Linked DNA regions of Homo sapiens: regions 1, 2, 3, 5, 6 and 7 are each linked to region 4. The links are contacts of gene promoters, found by promoter capture Hi-C in blood cells and fetal thymus (Javierre and others, 2016). All regions are on one chromosome and are shown on one strand. Each heading gives the region's core, a stretch centred on a gene start or on the middle of the fragment in contact. The rest is flanking DNA. Distances are from core to core; before and after follow the strand shown. Region 1 overlaps LOC107985486 (a long non-coding RNA gene). Region 2 has its middle 39 kb from the start of BACH1-IT2. Region 3 overlaps LOC107985486 (a long non-coding RNA gene). Region 4 holds the start of LTN1 (listerin E3 ubiquitin protein ligase 1). Region 5 has its middle 8.7 kb from the start of BACH1-IT2. Region 6 overlaps BACH1 (BTB domain and CNC homolog 1). Region 7 has its middle 11 kb from the start of BACH1-IT2.

The links. The method cuts DNA at HindIII sites, captures the fragments that hold promoters and counts their contacts. A CHiCAGO score of 5 or more calls a contact.
Region 1: a fragment that was not itself captured here is called in contact with the fragment with the promoter of LTN1 in region 4 in 3 of 17 cell types (naive CD4 T cells, activated CD4 T cells and total CD8 T cells); the score reaches 5.9 in naive CD4 T cells.
Region 2: a fragment that was not itself captured here is called in contact with the fragment with the promoter of LTN1 in region 4 in 2 of 17 cell types (neutrophils and naive B cells); the score reaches 11.5 in neutrophils.
Region 3: a fragment that was not itself captured here is called in contact with the fragment with the promoter of LTN1 in region 4 in 2 of 17 cell types (naive CD4 T cells and non-activated CD4 T cells); the score reaches 5.3 in naive CD4 T cells.
Region 5: a contact is called between a fragment that was not itself captured here and the fragment with the promoter of LTN1 in region 4, in 10 of 17 cell types (neutrophils, naive B cells, naive CD8 T cells and 7 more). The highest score is 12.6, in neutrophils.
Region 6: a fragment that was not itself captured here is called in contact with the fragment with the promoter of LTN1 in region 4 in 6 of 17 cell types (neutrophils, total B cells, total CD4 T cells and 3 more); the score reaches 11.1 in neutrophils.
Region 7: a fragment that was not itself captured here is called in contact with the fragment with the promoter of LTN1 in region 4 in 4 of 17 cell types (neutrophils, total B cells, monocytes and 1 more); the score reaches 13.1 in neutrophils.

What each region holds. Positions count from the first base shown.
Region 1 is chr21:29,437,187-29,439,886 of GRCh38, forward strand. The region is part of intron 1 of LOC107985486 (a long non-coding RNA gene); the gene reads left to right. Among named protein-coding and RNA genes, the nearest start is that of BACH1-IT3, 58 kb to the right of the region's middle. The HindIII fragment of the contact is 1,850 bases long and covers 398-2,247 here.
Region 2 is chr21:29,410,175-29,412,874 of GRCh38, forward strand. No RefSeq gene overlaps it. Among named protein-coding and RNA genes, the nearest start is that of BACH1-IT2, 39 kb to the left of the region's middle. The HindIII fragment of the contact is 2,038 bases long and covers 264-2,301 here.
Region 3 is chr21:29,453,098-29,455,797 of GRCh38, forward strand. The region is part of intron 1 of LOC107985486 (a long non-coding RNA gene); the gene reads left to right. Among named protein-coding and RNA genes, the nearest start is that of BACH1-IT3, 42 kb to the right of the region's middle. The HindIII fragment of the contact is 2,995 bases long and covers 1-2,700 here.
Region 4 is chr21:28,991,507-28,994,206 of GRCh38, forward strand. It overlaps LTN1 (listerin E3 ubiquitin protein ligase 1), which reads right to left and starts at 1,371. Exons shown (of 30, transcript NM_015565.3): 1 at 1,258-1,371. The coding sequence starts at 1,299. It overlaps LOC105372766 (a long non-coding RNA gene), which reads left to right and starts at 1,597. Exons shown (of 3, transcript XR_007067835.1): 1 at 1,597-1,625; 2 at 2,064-2,175; 3 at 2,276-2,675. RefSeq lists enhancers at 1,176-1,285, 1,596-1,655. The HindIII fragment of the contact is 7,723 bases long and covers 1-2,525 here.
Region 5 is chr21:29,362,440-29,365,139 of GRCh38, forward strand. No RefSeq gene overlaps it. Among named protein-coding and RNA genes, the nearest start is that of BACH1-IT2, 8.7 kb to the right of the region's middle. The HindIII fragment of the contact is 1,422 bases long and covers 638-2,059 here.
Region 6 is chr21:29,342,152-29,344,851 of GRCh38, forward strand. BACH1 (BTB domain and CNC homolog 1) reads left to right here. Exons shown (of 5, transcript NM_001186.4): 5 at 248-2,700. The coding sequence ends at 682. Among named protein-coding and RNA genes, the nearest start is that of BACH1-IT2, 29 kb to the right of the region's middle. RefSeq lists an enhancer at 1-1,168. The HindIII fragment of the contact is 5,760 bases long and covers 1-2,700 here.
Region 7 is chr21:29,381,926-29,384,625 of GRCh38, forward strand. No RefSeq gene overlaps it. Among named protein-coding and RNA genes, the nearest start is that of BACH1-IT2, 11 kb to the left of the region's middle. The HindIII fragment of the contact is 6,313 bases long and covers 1-2,700 here.

The sequences.
Region 1 (2,700 bases), core at 73-2,572, 450 kb after region 4:
TAAGTGGGGAGGGGGCTTCCAGGTTGTAAGTATATAAGTGACAAGTGTTTGCAGTCTTTTGAGTTTCTGATTAGTTTTTCCTAAGGAGGCAATCAGATATGCATTTATCTCAGTGAGTGGAGGGATGACTTTGAGTTTATCTTAGTAGCTATCTTTCTTAGGAATAGAATGGGAAAAAAGTTTCCCTAAGCAGTTCCCAGCTTGGCTTTTCCCTTTGGCTTAGTGATTTTGGGGTCCCGAGATTTATTTTCCTTTCACATTCCTCATGAGGATTTCCTTTCAAATAGTTCTTCCCTTTGAACAAATAATTTCATTCCTGGGGATCAGTCCTAAGGAACTAAGCCCAAATAATAAAAAAGCTTTCTGCTCAAAGATATTCTTTTCATCTTTTTTAAAAAGCTTTTCCTAACATGTTCTGATGGGGGCAGGTGACTGGCAAAGGCTGTTAGAACTGGTTTTAGCCACACGAAGGATCCTTGGGAGGTAATTTAGGGTCTCAGGTGAAAATATGAGGCAGGAAGGGTCACATTTTAACATCCTGCTACAAATGATTTCTTGGATCCCACCAAAGACCGTTTATTAAGTCTGTATTCCCCACATTCTTCTCTCTGGCTAGATAATTCCCTACTGTGACTTTTTGTATCTTTACAATTATTTTCTAGTGGCAGACTTCGGCAGCAATGCAAGTTTACCACATATACTGGCTTTCTGGTCTATCTCAACATGTCTTCCCACCACTCACTTTTTTTTTTTCTTCATTTTTGGCCCATACTGAGGGGTTGCCAGAATATTTTCTCTTATTTTTTTAAACAAATTCGGTTTTATGTCAAGATTACTAAAATTAATTTTGACATGGTATTGCCCATGGTAATTTTGTGTATGTTACAATTCATAATAAATTAACCAGAGTATTTTTTCACAGGCTCCTACCCACTGCATATTTTTATCATCTAACACATAGAAAATGTGTCAGTCTGTTAGATTCAATGCAAGTGCTCAGAGAAGTCTTTGTAACTGTACTTTAGATTTTGAGAATTCATTCATGGTTCCAATACATGGCATTTTACATGTAACATCGCAAATGGGTTTCATTTTAAGCATTCTTTAAATATGGAGCTTGTGAATTACAAAAGAATCTTTTATTTTACACCAGAATACTTCACATCTTATGGAAACTCATCATTGATTTTATTTAAAAGAACTAGTTTTTCAAGAACACCTAAACATTTAATTATCATTAAATCAATTAACTTGTAACCTCAGGATTATCTAACTATCAATCTGGAATGTCCAGTCAAGACAATGAAATATTAAACATATTTAAGGGGTTATAAATATGTGGAGGGAGGAACTAAGTGACAGTATTGAAAACTTTAAATATATGGGGATTACATTATATTAATGTATTTAATTGGTATGTTTATTATATATGGATTATGATATATTATTAGAAGTTTAAATAAACACAAAAAATATTAAATTTTATAAAAGGGTAAATAATGAGGCTAAATATAAGTTAAACATAAAATATTTGATTAGCTTTTCTTCATAACCCTATAAGTACTTAGGTTACATAGTATAATAAAATAGAATGTCCATGTGCATAAATAGCACAAATCTGCAATTAGTAGAAATGACCTGAATAGGCCAGGCCCAGTGGCTCATGCCTGTAACCCCAGCACTCTGGGAGGCTGAGGTGGACAGATCACTTGGGGCCAAGAGTTTGAGACCAGCCTGGCCAACATAACGAAACCCCATTTCTACTAAAAATACAAAAATTAGCCGGACATGGAGGCACATGCCTATAATCCCAGTGACTCGGGAGGTTGAAGCACGAAAATCACGTGAGTCTGGGAGGCAGAGGTCACAATGAGGTGACAGCGCACCATTGCATTCCAGCCTGGGTGACAGAAGGAAACTGTCTCAAAATAAATAAATAAATAAAATAAGATAACCTGAATAAAAATTATTTAAAAAATTTTTAAAAACTGTAAGAGATTACCTAATGCCCTAAAGTAAAACTGTAGCAAATGAAAGATGTACATTTTATCAGGAGGTAGGGTTAAATAGTAAAAAATTATCTTTTTTCAAATTAATTTATCATTTTAATATTATAATTCAAAGTCCAGATGGGATTCTTTTGAGAGAAACTTTGTAAAAAAAAAAATTAAGAAAAATATTTTTTTTCTTAAAATAGAATATTAATAAGTGGTGGAGAATTGTACCATATATTAAGAAGTATTATGAAGCTTGGATTCCTTAAGCAGTGTGGGCTTGATATAGGCTAATCACTAGAACCAGGTAGCTCAGATGAACTCTATGATAGGTAAGCTGCAATATATGGTAAAGGAGGCACCACAAACTAATGGTTAAAAAAGTAGTATTTAATAAGTAGTGTTGGGACAACTGGTTATCTGTTTACAAAAAAAGATATCTTTGGATTCTTACCTCTTACCATACACCCCCCAAAAATCTACAAGAATAAAAGAGACTTGAAAAAATCATATAAATTTAAAAGTTTAGAAGAAAACTATCAAATCTCTGTTTGGGGGAAGGTTTACCAACTTAAAAATAATGGAAAAACTGTAAGGACAGAGATAGATGTTAATGCCATAAAAATAATAACTTATGCCTATAAAAAAATCAAAGGGCAAATACTTTGGACATTTTTTGAATCAATTGTGAATCACATTCATTTTC
Region 2 (2,700 bases), core at 33-2,532, 420 kb after region 4:
CATATTAAAACTTAGTATGCTTGTCTGTTTTAGAAAAGACCTCTTTAATCATTCCAGTAATTATGCAAACACTCCCACAGGGCCAACAATAAACATGTCCTTCCCTTCCTGAGAAGCCTTCTGACTGTCTCCTTGGAAGCCACACCAAAGGGATTGGACAGAACGTGCAATTAATAACTCAAATGAGGAGAGGTTAATATGGTCATCAGGCATCTGAGAAATAAAAGTGTCATTGCTTTATTAAAAGCTGTAATTCAGGTACAAGCTTACATAGTAATGATAAGACAATTTTAAAGAAATAAATGAAAGGACCAGAAGAAAAAAAAATGTTGATCTTAACTCTAGATGAGATTTTAGATTCTGCAAACATATTTTCTTGGTTGATAAAGAATGAGATCCATTGACCTTTAAATGTATTATTTGTTGCAAGAAAATGTAGAAGTCCAAGGAAACTCTACAGGGACTTTGCTACTTGAGGTTTGATAACCTGTCCATGAGTTTCCTAAGTACAGTGAATTTTCGAGGGTCCGTTTTCATGTGGCCTCAGGAGATCAAATTTAATCATTTAGGTTTTCCTTTCTCCTACTTGGGAGGGGTGTAGGGGCTTGAGAAGCTCAGGGCTATTTAAAAAGACCTACATGGGCCAGACGTGGTGGCTCATGCCTGTAGTCTCAGCACTTTGGGAGGATGAGTGGGGAGAATCACTTGAGCCCAGGAGTTTGAGACCAATCTAGGCAATATAGGGAGACCACTGTCTGTATGTGTGTATATATATATATATATATATATATATATATATATATATATATATATAAATTAGTCATATGTGGTGTCACACACCTGTCATCCAAGCTACTCAGGAGGCTGAGGCTGGAGGATCTCTTGAGCCCAGGAATTTGAGGCTTCATTGAACCTTGATCAAGCCACTGCCCCAGCCTGGGCAACAGAACAAGACCCTGTCTCAATAAAGTAAAATAAAATGGCCTATACTATCTTTTTGTTGTTGTTGTTGCCTCACTTAGTATCAAAGAAGATTAAGAGAAATGTAAAGAGCTAGACTTTGAGCTCCTATGTAATAAGGTCCAGGTATATGAAAGAGAATAATGATGAGGCCCTGATGTACATCCCATAACGTGAGAAATGACAGTTAGAAGAACAGGGGGACTCTGTTTAGTGGTAACATGAACTCTTTAAGGAACTCTTTAAGGAAGCTGGGACAAGGGAGAGCCTTCAATTTCTCATACACAGAAGCCAATATGGGCTGTTTATGGTTGAATGAGGAGGAGGATGGTTTGGGTTCCTTGACCTATGTCACTGAGGTACAATCTTTATTTCAAACCCTCCCAGGCCACGATGAAAAGACTCCTGGAAAACCATGAGGTGGCCCTCCCAAACCCTAAGATTGGAATGTGGTTTTCCTAGGGAAAGAAGACTCATGAGCTGTCTGGAGGTGAGCATTGGTGGGGAAGGTCTTTTGGAGCAAGAAGAAAACCGTGGGCTTTATCCTTTAGGCTACGGAGTCATTGGAGAATTTTGGACAGAGGAATAATGAGATAGAAGTAATGTCTAGAGAATATTAATTTGATAACAGGGTACAAAATAATTTAGGAGATTTCTGGGAAGGGGGCCAGTTCAGAATCTTCTTCCCCCCATAATCTGTACGTGAGAACATGAAGTGCTGTTGGTTTATTGAGTGAGCTAAACTGAGCGGGGGTAGAACTAGGGAACGATTTAATTTTTCATCGTCTATTGCATTTAAATGTGGTCTGTTTGATCCCTTTTCCTTATCCCTGAATGAGATCTGAGGAAAATCACATAGCTTTCTTGTCCTTTTGACTTGTTAGACAAGTCCTATTTTGTTAAGAGTCACTGTGTCTGGTATTAAACAGCCCAGTCTAAATAAAAACTTCAGGCTCAGATCCAATTCTGAGCTTCTCACCTTCCCTCAACTCAGGTCTGATCTAGGCTAGGAAAGAGGTGTGGTCTTTTCTTATGCAATTCCTTTCTCCTTTGCTTCTCTTCCCAACTCCTGCTGCTGGCTCCTCCAGAACTGGGAAGCAGGGGTTAGCATGAAAGGGGGAAAGGCATTTTTACTCCGTTCATGATATTTATGGGTTTCTCTTGGCTGGTGATAATATGTGTGCTGGGCCTCCAAACGCTGGCTCATTTGTGGGGTGCAGATGGTCTGTGTGTGCTCCACGTGGGCTCTGCACAGGGTGTCAAGAGATGCAATACCCAGTTGGCCTTTTCCAAGCCTCCGGTGGTACCGTCTAGTGTGCTGCATCCCATCGAGATGGCTCAAGCTTGGCTCCCTTCCGGAGTTCACCGAACCCACCGGAAATGCATGGTTCGTTGCCGTTCCAAATGTGGGCTGCTTCCGGTGCTCCTTTCCTTCCTCCTGCCAGCCTCTCACTGTCTACATTCTCTGGCGGGAGGCAGGCACCAGCCTCTATGTTCATATAAACCCCTAAATTCTAGCTTATCCATGTCATGCTCTCCAGAGAGCAATTCCACCGTATCCTTCTTTAGGGACTTAAGAATTGCTGCAACTGCTTAGCAAGCCCCCAGCTGAGCGTGAGATACTGTTATGGGTTGAACTGTGTTTCCCCAAAATTCATATGTTGAATTCCTAACCCTTAGTACCTCAGCAGGTGACTGTATTTGGAGATAGGGTCTGTTAAAAGAAAAAAGTGATTAAAT
Region 3 (2,700 bases), core at 169-2,668, 460 kb after region 4:
ATGAAACAATCTTGCTCTTAGAACCACTTCAAATGATTGGTAAATTGGGGTCACTTATGGTAATTTTATTTATAATCTTTAATCTTGTATCTACATCTCTTTTCTCCTCTTCCTTCTCTTACATTCAGTAAATCTAAGGCTTCTTTGAGTTTCTGTGCCCTCTCTTACCTATTGGCAATGTCTGTAAAGACACAGCTCACCTCTTTCTTCTCTTCTGGGAAATATTATTAGCCATTATGCTTTCAGCCCACATTTGTTCACTTATTATTTCCCTGTGTAGACCCTACAAAATGGGAACCAGATCTTTTTCTATAGTTTTAGATAAAGGTAGTCTGGCAGTTTTCTAGAGAAATTCATTATTAGAAATTTATTCTAATGGGAACCCATTTTTGGCTTACTCTGTTGGTTGCTTTGACCTCTGTTTTTCCTTGCAGAGCTCGACTTATTAATATCATTTAGGAGCACTGGGAAACATCATTCTGCATATTTATCAGGCAATTCATACACACATCCCTACAGTTCAGTGTATAGAGCTTCTCTGTTTTGGACTTAAACTGAAAGATTTTAATGACTGGTCGTATTGGCCCAGCTCCTAATATGCAGATGAATCATTGTGTCTGCACTGCGGAGTGTTGGCCATCTTTTTACTTCTGCTTTTCTTAAGTAGATGCAAATATTGAGGGGATCCTAAAGAAGGACAGGAAGAGTACCAGCATTTTTTTTTTTCTAAATCTGCCACTAAAGTCCCTTTGGATTGGATTTTAGATAGTCATGGCATTTGAATAACCTGCATTTATTAATCTCTGGAAATAAGTGAAAAACTAGAAAAGGCTGAACGTACAATCAATATAATGCAATACTGGGGCCTAACAAAGTGGATAAATGATATTTATCAGCAGGCGACTGCTGTTTAATTCACAGGCACAAATGCCCACATTCATCTGTGACACTGAATCAGTTTTCTTGTGAGTGTTGTCTTCCCTGAGGTTTCTTTCTCTTACTCTTCTCTCCTTGCTCAAATTTCAGAGTTGTCATCCACAATTCTGGGAAAGGTGATGTTTCACTTGCTTCATTCAATAAAGATGGGGTTTAGGGGGGTGACACAAGGTATGGCTACCAATGTCTAATGCTGGTATTATATCCTTTATCCAGTATGCTGGGGAGAAAGTACAATCATTTTGCTTTACTTCATAGCTATCTGGTTCATTAAATCCCATGAGTCTTGGTAAATTATGAAGCAATTATTGATTTTGTTGTGGTCAACATCAAGATATATATTGATTTTCCCACCAGTCAATAGTTTCCAGAGGCATAATCAATATTGATGTTTGCTGAACATGTGTGTTAATGTCAGTGTGGGTATATGTACTTAGATCTCTACACTCAGATATTTATTTTATACTCTTTCTGAACGTTTTTGTAAAAAACTATTTTCTCCCAAAGATCCTATTATTTTTTGGCTGATTTATTCAGTTCTTCCTTTTTGCTTTACATTTTTAATCTCATTTATTCTTCCCCGGATTGATAATGGAAAGGAAAACTAAGGCTTTGGAAGAAGTCTATTTGCCTTTAATGAACCGGTTGGGGGTGAGTCTTCCTGATGAGATTGTGATTAATTGCAAAGTGAGTATTACTTCTTGTCTCCATCCTGTCGGTTCGATAGAATGACAAAAAAAGTTGAAGACTTTCACTCTCCATTCCAGCATCTACCAGACCAACATAACTCAGTAAGCACATCTGAGAATCCCCCTCATTTACTCCCAGTACTTTTTTCAATTATGTGGAACATAGACGAACAGGTCAAACTTGGATTTAGACAAAGTTAAATGATCAACTACATGATGCAATTTAATGGGCACAAAAATAAAAAAAAAAAAAACCTCTTACTGTCTTACATAATAGCCTAAAGTCTACCAGTAGGAATTTATTATAAATATCCTCTTAGAAAATTCAGATTGCTCCTGAGTAAATTAGAATATCAGGAAACTCACCCTTAGCCATCTATTGAACACATACTAGATATCTAGTTCTTTGCTATCATTTTGAGTTGGCACTTTACTTGGTTGACTCCGTGGTTCTTTAGTCTTTATCTGCACTCCACGTTTCTTTAAGCTAGCTGATGTTTCTCATATATTAATTGGCTTCTTCGACCAGTGAGGCAAATGAATTAGTACTCATTTCATCAGTGAGTTTTTTCTTTTCATCTAGAAAGATGCATTCCATCTAGGAAATGGGGGATTTGATGGCATGTGAGAAAGGTGAGAAGAAAGGAATAAATTTAAAGTACAGCAAATTGCCATCCTATACATGCATGTGTGCATGCCCTCTGGTATATATGTATCAGATGCTAGGTGGTAAGCAATAATTTGCCATGAAGCAGTTTGGTAGGGGTGAACTTCTCAGAGTAATTTCAAGCCAGTTATTGACTCCCAATAACAACTTAGCATTCTGATTCCCAGAGGATAATGTGGTCAAGAAAAGAGAAAGATAACGCATACATGACAAAATCAACCTCCCTCATTAAAACAATTTCCCTAATTGATCAGTGCTTCAGAGCATTCCATGTAGTGGCCGGGGAAAAAGTGCAGTACAGAAAAAAACTGGTTCTTGCAAAAGAGAGATAGCTTTGATGTGACAGAGACAGTGTGACAATAACCAAGTCCACTTTTCTGTAATACTGATCTGCCAATGCTTTGTATA
Region 4 (2,700 bases), core at 121-2,620:
TATAAGTTCAGAAAAATACATAAATTAAGAGAGAGAAAGCAAATGCAACCAAGTATTAGCAATTGGTAAATGTAGGTAAAGAGTATATGGGATGTCGTTCTAATATTCTTGCAACTTTTCCTCATAAGAACTTTTCAAATATAAAACATTTGAGAAAATCTGTTAAATAAAAAACATTAAAAGATGCAAGTAAAGTGCTTAGCACAGTAACACAACAGGTTGCTATAATTGTTAATACTGTTATTATCTTCCAAAACAGATTAAGTGACAGATCTAAGAAAATGTGACATTGAAATCACTAGAATTAACTACATCAGAAACAGGAAAAAAAAGCATTCTCATAAAATTGGACTGTGCTATAATAAATCTAACACCATAAAAAAATACCATTACAAAACCCCTCATCGTGTAGTTTTACACGAATCCACTTTAAGGTCGTCCTTAAGCAAGTACTTAGTGAGCGTCTATTAGGTGCCAGTCTGTTCTAGGTTCCGAGGATAAAAACATTTGCTTTCAAAATACTTACGTCCTAGTGAACCAAGACAATAAATGTCATAAATACAATGGAGTAAAATAAAGTAGGAAGAACATGGGAGTGGGGAAGGGCTACCAAGAGGGTGATCATGGGAGACCTCACTGAGGTGTCGAGAGCAAAGTTTGGAGCCACCTAACTGAAGAGCGTTGGGAGCCGGCCAGGTAGTCAAGGCACAGTGAAGAGATCAGTGTGGCTGGATGAAGTAAGCCAAGAGGAGGGAGCTGAAGATGGGACTGCAGATGGAAAGGGGTAACAGGCAGTCCAGAAACCAAATATACCATCCTAAGAGCTTTAGCTTAGGAGAAGCCACTGTAGGTAGCAAAGGAGAGGCACAATCTGCGGTAACCTCCACAGTGGATTCACTTTAACATTCTCCCAACTCTCCTTCTTCCCAGCGCCGCCCTCCCCCAACCAACCCGCTACCTCGGCCAGATCACCTTCCAGTGAACCTGACACATTATCATTTCTTCATGAATATTATGGGTGTGTGCTCGGATGAGGACAGCTCTGGCATGGTACATCTTTTCTCTCACGATTCCCCAATCTGCTCAGAGATAACACAAACCGCTCTCAGGGACGCACACACAACAGAGAGGTCACACTCGACAGGGAAACACACGCCTCCCTACAGCCGCGCTCCACACACCCTCCAGCAACGCGCTGGGCGGAGCCAGCCGCCTCGAAGCGAGGCTCCCGGGTCGGCCGAGCCAGCCCCCGCTCACCCTCAGGTTCCCTTTAGTTCGCTGCTTGTTCTTCCCGCCCATGGTCGCGGTTGCAGCTGTACTCTGAGCACTCAGACCCCGGTTGACACGTCCGGGACACAACTTCCGGCTTCTGGCGGCGGAAGAGGACACCCTGTAATAACTTCCCCCGGGCCCTTTTCCGCCACCCACCCTGTCCATTTGCTGCCCCACTTCCGCTCCCGCCTCCCGCTGTGTCCCTGACCATCCGCCACCGGAGACGTCACAGCTAAAGCCACGCCTGTCTGAGTGATGTCATTCCTGGCCAATAGGAAGCCAAGCATTGGACCCGTGGCGCCAAATCCTGTCCTCCCCGCTTTCAGAAGCTAGGTTTGTTCCTTGCTTAGAGGGTAGGAAACTGGCGTGAATCATCAGAGGGGCAGTTTCACATAAGGGTAGCATTAGAATGTTATGGTAGAGGCTGTGGGAAGATGGGAGTGTTTTAGACTTCCAACATGATGCAATCATCAGTATCACCTGGGCGTTTTTTAGAAAAGGCCAACTCGGGCCCCTCAGAACTCCTGAATCAGATCCTGCATTTTGACAGTATTCCCAAGTCTTGTTAAAATTTGATTACTGCTGTAGGCACTATTCTCTCTAAATCTCCCCTCCCCGTCCCCTTTTATTCATATTGAAACTGTTAACGTGCAGTTTAGGAAAGAGGATAATGTGGGAGTCCCTATTAAAATTTGAAATGTACAAATCCTGTAACCCATTGATTGTGCGACTCAGAATCACACCAGAGAAACAAGTAAATGTGTGCTGGTTATTGTTTCTTGTCCACGCAGTCACCCTTTTATACTCAACTCCATGTTACTGGGGGGGCTTCTGCTAGATTCCACCAACAGGACGAACAAGAGGGAAACAAAGGCAAGAGGAAGAAGGGACTTGCTCCATTCTGTAAGCATCATGCCAGCAGCAGCTGCATTTTACCGTGGCAGGAGCAATTGCTTTAGCCAAAAGGTGGTTTTAATCTCTATCCTTTTTCCAACAATCACAGAATCAGCCTTATTGCACCCCTCAGAGATCACAGCAGCAGTCAGTGCTCTCCTCAGAGATCTGAATTCTACTTTCATGCGGCCCCTCCCCTGAGCTCCTGAGATAGCCAATGTTTGAGCCACCTCCTCAGAAGTTTGAGCCTCAACACCGTGGGATCCCTTCTTTGTGCTCCAGAGATCCAGTAACAGCCAGCCATCACCCTCTCTTCATTCTTCATAGGCCTGAACTAAGGTGTTCAGGGCCCTCCTTCAAGCTTTTAGGTTCTGATGACTCCAACCACTTCTTTTGTTCCATCCTTTCCTAGCTCTAGGAATGGTAGCTGCTACCTGCAGTGATTACCTGTTACCTTTTATAATTCCTTTTGACCAATTTCCCATATTAAAATATTTCTCAATAACTAATGTGATTTCTGTTTTCCTGACTGGA
Region 5 (2,700 bases), core at 99-2,598, 370 kb after region 4:
TATTGCACATTCATTTTTTTTAATCTGGTGTGTATTTTACACTCACAGCTCATTTCGATTTAGATTAGCCAGATTTTAAGTGCTCAGTAGCCACATGTGGCTAGTTGGCCACATCATGTTCCGCTCGGCTCTAAAGACTTAGTGCCTGTTATGAGGGGAATTGTGTGCCCCCCAAATTCATGTGTTAGAATCCTAACCCCCACTACTTCAGAATGTGACCTTATTTGGAGATAGGGTTGTTACCAAGTAAAAACGAGGTCATTTTAGGGTGGACCTTTAGAGTGGATCCTAATCCAGTATGACTGATGTCCTTCTAAAATGCGGAGACTGGAGACAGGCTCACACACAGGGAGAACTCCATGTGGAGAGGAAGGCAGAGACTGGGTGATGCATCTCCAAGCCAAGGACCATCAAAGATCACCTTCATCCCCAGAAGCTAGGAGGGAGCCATGGAACAGTCTCCCTCACAGCCTCAGAAGGAACCAACCCTGCTGATGTCTTGATTTTGGACATCCAGCCTCCAGAACTGTGAGAGAATACATTTCTGTCGTTTAAGGCACACGGCCTGTGGTGCATTGTTATGGCAGCCCTAGTCAACCACTACAGAACCTTTGGTTGGTGGCTGCCATTGTTCCAAAGCTTTCCTCTCCTTGCCTTGAATCTCCTCTTCTCTTCCTTCTGTGCTTTCTCTTCTGGCCTCTCTGTCACTCAACTTTCCTGCCCTCTCTCATCGTTTTCCATAGGATCTCCCTCTCATAGCACAGAAGTAAGCAGGGAGTTTCTGTTGTAGTAAGCGGGAGATGGGTTCCACCTGAGCAGGGAGATGCCTGACTTGCTTCACGTCTCCAATGGGGATAATATTATCTGCCAGCTGTCCCCTGGAGCTACTGTTGTGTAGGTGAAGGGCCGACTCAGAAAATGCTTTGAAACCCATAAATAATGACATGGATGAGAATGAGTATTTTGTGTGTTTTACTTTCACATGTTAGGACTCAAAGGTGGAATGAAGTGTTTTCTAAGTTACTTTGGTTTCTTCTCTCTGTAATTATCTAGGGTTCCTACTTCATGGTAGGGAATGTGTGAAAGGGCATAGGCCCTGCCACTTTCTTGCCATCTGTCAGTAGTGGGCTTCTACGGGCTGCCTCCCAAGCATGTTTTATATCCTCTCTACCCAGCGCAGAACGGCCTCCCTAACTCAAAAACCACGTGTTAAGGTGATATGGATCCCACTCCCATCTCTAGAAGTGGGTCCCAAATAGGGTCACTGCATCAGATAATTCCAAGGGGTATCATCTTGATATTGTTTGGCTTTGTGTCCCCACCCAAATCTCATCTTGAATTGTAATCCCATAATCCCCACGTGTCATGGGAGGGAGCCGGTGGGAGATAATTGAATCAGGCTGGCTGTTTCCCTCACACTGTTCTCGTGATAGTGAGTGAGTTCTCAGGAGATCTGATTGTTTTATAAGCGTCTGGCATTTCCCCTGCTGCACTCATTCTCTCTCCTGCTGCCCTGAGAAGAGGTGCCTTCCACCATGATTGTAAGTTTCCCGAGGCCTCCCTAGCCATGCAGAACTGTAAGTCAATTAAATCTCTTTGCTTTATAAATTACCCAATCTCGAGTATTTCTTCATAGCAGCATGAGAACGGACCACTACACATCTGCATTGTCATAAATGTGTATAGTGAACTTGAAGTTGTGCAGTGCACAACCTGCACAGTCATATCTGATAGCCCCAGTCCTGTACAATTAAATCATTCAGGCAATCCCGTCTCTCTGACCGTAGTCATAGGTACAGAATGGGTACTAAAATCCCGTAAAGCTGTGAGGAGAGATTGTCCGGGGTTACTGAGAAAAAAACCAAAAAACAAAAAACTCTTGCCTTCTCCAGGGACCTACTGATAGACGGCATTCTGAGTGTGATATAAACATATAAGGCTGGCAGCTGTGCTCATGAGAGAAGGGCCAGTACCTTTTGCGAAGTCACTAGGTGGACCTTGAGGAATAAGAGAGCAGAGATCTGAGAGAGCCAGGGCTTGTGCTTATGCCTCTGGATCAAGCTTTGCCTGAAGCACCTGTGCAGTTTGTTACATGAGCCCATGTATTTGCTTTATAGAATTGGTTTGGGTTGGATTTTCTTTCCCTTGCTACCCAAAGAATTCTAAATGCTACACTGGAGATGGAAGTAAAGAAAGGGGGAGATAGAGATATGTTTCTGGTTGACAGTGCAACAACTATCAAAAACAAAAACAAAGCTTCTTCAAGCATCCACAACCATTGCCACAGCAATTTGAATTACATTTTCTAATGAAAACCAGGCCAAATGATCGTTAACATTCTCAGCTAACTCACAGCAATGTTCTTAAGTCCATTTGTGATTGTCCAATGCTAAAAATGTATACCAGTTGGCATTAAAAACCTAAACTATTTCTACCACTGTATGGCTTTTAACTAGAGGTTTGTGGTCTACCCTGAAAACTTAATCTACTATGCATATCTTTATTTCTAAACTAATACGTTCTTTTGAGTTCAGCCTACCTAAAAGCATACTTCTGGTGTACTGCCTATTTGTAAATTGAAACTTGTCATAAGTATAATAACATTGCCCCCATTGTTCGTATTAATTCATAGCAAGGGGGAACACTACTGTATAGATGTTATAAATGCTTAGGCAAGGGAGACCATTCAGCTCTTAACCC
Region 6 (2,700 bases), core at 201-2,700, 350 kb after region 4:
TATGTGTGCACCCATACTGTCTTTCCAAAACCTGAAAAATGCTTTGTGCCAAAATACATCTGCCCCAAGAGTTTTGGGTGGGAGATTCTGGGCCTTTAGTATTTAATGTATAATTGAATGGAATTGAAAGGATAAACTCCATGTGATCTTACTTGATGAGAAGCCCCTGTATATTATTTGATCGCCTTGGAAATGTTGATTGAGCTAATAAACACAAGCCATTGTGTTCTCTTTCCCCACTTCACAGCAAAGTGAAAAGGAGAGCTTGTTGAAGGAAAGAGATCACATTTTGTCAACTCTGGGTGAGACAAAGCAGAACCTAACTGGACTTTGCCAGAAAGTTTGTAAAGAAGCAGCTCTGAGTCAAGAACAAATACAGATACTCGCCAAGTACTCAGCTGCAGATTGCCCACTTTCATTTTTAATTTCTGAAAAAGATAAAAGTACTCCTGATGGTGAACTGGCGTTACCATCAATTTTCAGTTTATCTGACCGGCCTCCAGCAGTGCTGCCTCCCTGTGCCAGAGGAAACAGTGAGCCTGGCTACGCGCGAGGGCAGGAGTCCCAGCAGATGTCCACAGCCACCTCTGAGCAAGCTGGGCCTGCGGAACAGTGTCGTCAGAGTGGTGGGATCTCAGATTTCTGTCAGCAGATGACTGATAAATGTACTACTGATGAGTAAACTTGCATTCACTTCCTTCAAACCATCTAATTTTCTCCTGAAGTTTTGGCAGCGTCTTGAAAGCCTAATATGACCATCTGTTGCTCAACAATACTGTTTTTTTCCTTTAGTAGTTTACCATAAGGGAATTTCCTTTAAGTCAACCATGATTTCTCCTTGATTTCTACAAGAGACAAAGAAATGATTTTGCCTCCTGGATATCAGAAAAATCCATGTGAAAATGTAGTAAACCTTTAAAACTCATGTTTTAAAGAATAATAACTCTAGTAATAACTCTTCCTGCTATTCAGAATAAGTAGGAGAATGAAAACTGCAGCATATCAGACAGCAATTTAACAGCTTGAAACATCTACAGATAGTTCCTACTAAAAGAAGTGGCCTGCAGAAGTTTAATAATTTGACTTTTTTCTAATATTTTAGTTTGAAAGAAAATTTCTTCCCAAGCAATGCTAATAGAGTTCTATTCTTAGAAGCAGGGTGTCAGCTACTGGGAATATTTTTGTAGAGCTGCATTGTGAAAAAAAGATGGTCTTACCTGAATCTTAGGGCTTTGTTCTTCGGCTCCTAAAATCAGGCTTTAAGCTACATTGGGAAGATTTAGTAAATAGGCAAGTGGTTGGCCTAAGACGGGGGCTGCTTCTCCTCTTCAGTATGGACTCTAGAAAGTCTGGCTACATGAATAGATTTAAGTGTCACTTTCCCTCCCTGCCCCCCGCTTCAGTCTCTACCATATCTGGTCCCATCATGGACTTCCTATTTCCTGGCATTTTTGTCCCTTTGGAAGAAGAAATAGGACTCAGAATACAGTGGCATGAGTGATTACACTGGCAGCATTATCTCAGGCTCCCTAGAATCTGGAGAGCTTACCAACATGTAAAGCTGTTCATTTTTCCACCGTGGGTCACCAATGCCAGAAAACCAGACATCACGGGGAAAGAATGTTGCTTACTTTTTACCAGGAGTGCAGTTCATTTTTTTCACCCTGTTTTTGAAGTCGTATTATTCACTTGTAAAAATGATTGTAACAGATAAAAAATGTATCTGCAGCAACTCTGCAGGTTTGTGAAATAGGATGAAACTCAATCTTTTTCTATTGTGGGTTTGCATTTGAAAAGCAGGTTGAATCCTTGCTCTCTTCTCCAAATTTGGTGTGGTATAAAGACACACAAATCATTTTAACTTGGACATTTAAAGATCAGTCTTAGTGTTTGTTCAGTCCTGTTACAAAATAGATAACTGAGCACCTATCGCATAACATTTTGCGGTGGCTTTTAGCCATGCTGGGGTTAGATGTGTTTGAGAGTCAAATGAAAGCTATGGATCTTCTCAGCAATTAAAAAAAATGCATATATTCACATTCACAGAAACATTGGCAGAACCCAGTTTTAATGGTACAGAGGAGTAGTTTATAGTGTTGATTTCACCAAAATCAGAGGGCTGAAAGAGACACTTCTATAGACTGCATCCTGAGCCTAGTGCAGGGCTTGTCTAGCTAATGTGGGCAGCCACCACCCACTGTGTATGAACAAGTCTGAAGCAAGTTGGCCTTGCCCTTGAGAGTATATGGGGACCAGTCTTCATGTCTTGGAGTAATTTGTCAAATGTTACCCTTTTTGATCAGGGTGTAGGGGGAGGATATTGCTAGTATATTTTCAGTGGTTTGTATGTTCTCTCTGTCACTGACTTATTTGTAAGAGAAAATTAGTTGGACTTGTTTATTTTCTAGTAGCTTTTATAAGTACACTCAAGAATTTGTCAGGGAGAATAATTCTGATAGTGCATCCCATACTGCAAAAGAATTTGTGTGTGTGTGTGTGTGTGTGTGTGTGTGTGTGTATGTGTATGTATACATATATATCTCTCCATATAGGTATTTCTTTGATACTTGTAATTTTAAATTTCAGCTTCACGATATAAAATAATATAAGAACTTCTGGTTTACAAAATGTAAAATCTTAAGCCAATGGAACCCTTGATTTCCTACCTCAGTGTACACCCAACTATTGGTTGTATCAGTT
Region 7 (2,700 bases), core at 164-2,663, 390 kb after region 4:
GAAGGATCCCAGGTCCCAAAGGCATAAGGATGAAGGGAAGAGAGAAAGAAAAACCGACATGTTCCTGACAGCTGGATGCTTCTCCCATTTAGATTTCTCTGAACTGAAATTCTAGATGGTTTAATTACTCCATAAGGTTTGCTAAATTGCCACGTCTCAGCCTCACATACAATGCTGGTATCTACATTCTATGCTCTCAGACTATGTATTAAAACTGTGCACTGGTGGAGTAAGCTAGTTAAATATTTGTACATTTGACTGCACACAGCTACTGCTTATGTTTTCTTGTTCTTCTGCTCTATCTTAAGGAATCTGTATGAGTCAGCCAGTTAAAATGCTGGCTGGGAGGTAATTAGCTGGGAATTTTAACCCCATCATAGTCATTCACCTGCTTGAAGAATGAAGTGGATGGGTACTTTAGTGAGTCTAGCAACTGTTTCTTTCTCTGCCAAATGCAAGAAGTTCTTCGTGAGTTGCTGGATGGCTCAAATTATATTCTGGAGCTTATCCTGGAAACAGGCAAATGTCAGTCCAATGGAACATCAGCGCACATTGATATATAAAATTGCAGGTGATGAAAGGCTCTGAAAGAACTCTATGAGTCTCTGGTCTTAACGCTCTCTTAGATTTTGATGGTACATTGTCTTTTTCATTTCAACTCTGTTTTAAATTTTTTATTATGTAAATTTTTAGACATACCCAGAATTAGAGAGAATAGCATAATAAAACTTGATGGTACCATTAATTCAGTCTCAATAATTGTCAATATTTTGTCAATTGTGTTTTAGTCAGTCCCCACTCTTGGTTTCCTTGTGGCCTGATCTCTATCTGGCAGCTATTAACTCCAATTTGTTTCTTACCACCATTTCTCAGCTCGTCTCCACGTATGTAGACCTTCATCCAAGTGGAATTGTGTGAAGCCTCCCCTGGCTGTGGGAACTACATTTCCATAGAAGTAGCCTCCCTATTCTGGATCTGAATTATACCAAGAGTTCAGTGGCACATTAAATGATAATTGATTTGGAAATGAGAGGCACATATACAAAGACAATAACCAGAGCATATATAAAAATAGAACAGCTTACACCTGCCCGCCCAGAAAACCAACCCCTTGTTTCCAACAAACAGCCCAGGAAACCAGCCTGCTTTAAGTCAGAGTTGGAGGGGGTCACATGCTATCACTGGCAACAGTCTAGGAAGTTAACAGTCACTTCTGGAACAATTGGTCTAAAATGACCAGGACTTCACTAATTTTATTGGTAAATACTTTAATATGAATCTCTAGCAGATAAGGGCTTTAAGACAATATAACCACAATAGTATCACCATACTTAACAAAATTATTATTTTAAATATCATCAGTCCATGTTCAAATTGCCTTGTCTCAATTTTTTTTTTTTTTTTTTTTTTTTTTTTTTTTTTTTTGAGATGGAGTCTCGCTCTGTTGCCCGGGCTGGAGTGCAGTGGCGCAATCTCGGCTCACTGCAAGCTCCGCCTCCTGGGTTCATGCCATTCTCCTGCCTCAGCCTCCCAAGTAGCTGGGACTACAGGCGCCCACCACCACACCTGGCTAATTTTTTTGTATTTTTAGTAGAGATGGGGTTTCACCGTGTTAGCCAGGATGGTCTCGATCTCCTGACCTCGTGATCCACTCGCCTTGGCCTCCCGAAGAGCTGGGATTACAGGCGTGAGCCACCGTGCCCGGCCTCAAAAAAATTTTGAATAGTACATTTGTTCATATCAGGAGCTGTATGAGTTCCTTTGTTGATTTTGGTTGATATATCTCTTAATCCTCTATTATTATTTAACACTTTCTCTTCCCCCTTTTTTTCAAGCCATTTATTTGTTGAAAATATGTCATTTTTCCAGTTGAATTTCCCACATCCTGGTCTTATGTGATTGTATCCTGTGGTATTGTTTATATACCCCATATTTCTTGTTAACTGGCAGTTAAGTCAAGAAACACAATTAAATTTAGGTTTATTTTTTTCAGGGGGCAAAAATATTTTATGGGCAGTGTTTAAATCAACAGGCACCCAATGTCTACTTGTCCCACTTTTCATGATGCTGAAGTTGATGGGTTTAGATGTCATCATTCACCCATTATCAATTTTCCCATCAACTACCATTTATGATTCTTGCCAAAATCCATTGTCTCGGCAGGGGTTGCAAAATGACATTTTTCGAATTATTTTTCTAATAATCATTCTTTTTTAATTAGAATTCTTCTGTGGAGAAGAACTTTCCCTCACATCTATTTGGTTAACCTGAAGCACAGTTCATAAATGAGAGGCAAGGTAAATGCTGTATTCTGTACCTTTATTTATCCAATTTCAGAGCAATGAGTCCAGCAACAGCCAAAAATGATTAGTGTGGTTTTCATTTTTCAAAATATCATTATGAACTTACACATTTAATATATATATTTCTGTTATATATTAATATACTAAAAGATTTGATACGTTGTATATATCTAAAATATTTAACATATTTGAATCAATGAGTTTCAGTTGACAATCCATTGTAATGAATGCTAAATTTGTCTCCCCGTTGTTTAATAGGATTGCTCTTAAACTCAGTGTAAAACTGCTTGCCTACTATCCTGTTTATTTTTGAAATACAACTGTACTTAGTATTAAAATATTCCTATTATAGAAAATTTAGAGAATAAAGCCCCACATAAAGAGGAAAATGAAAATT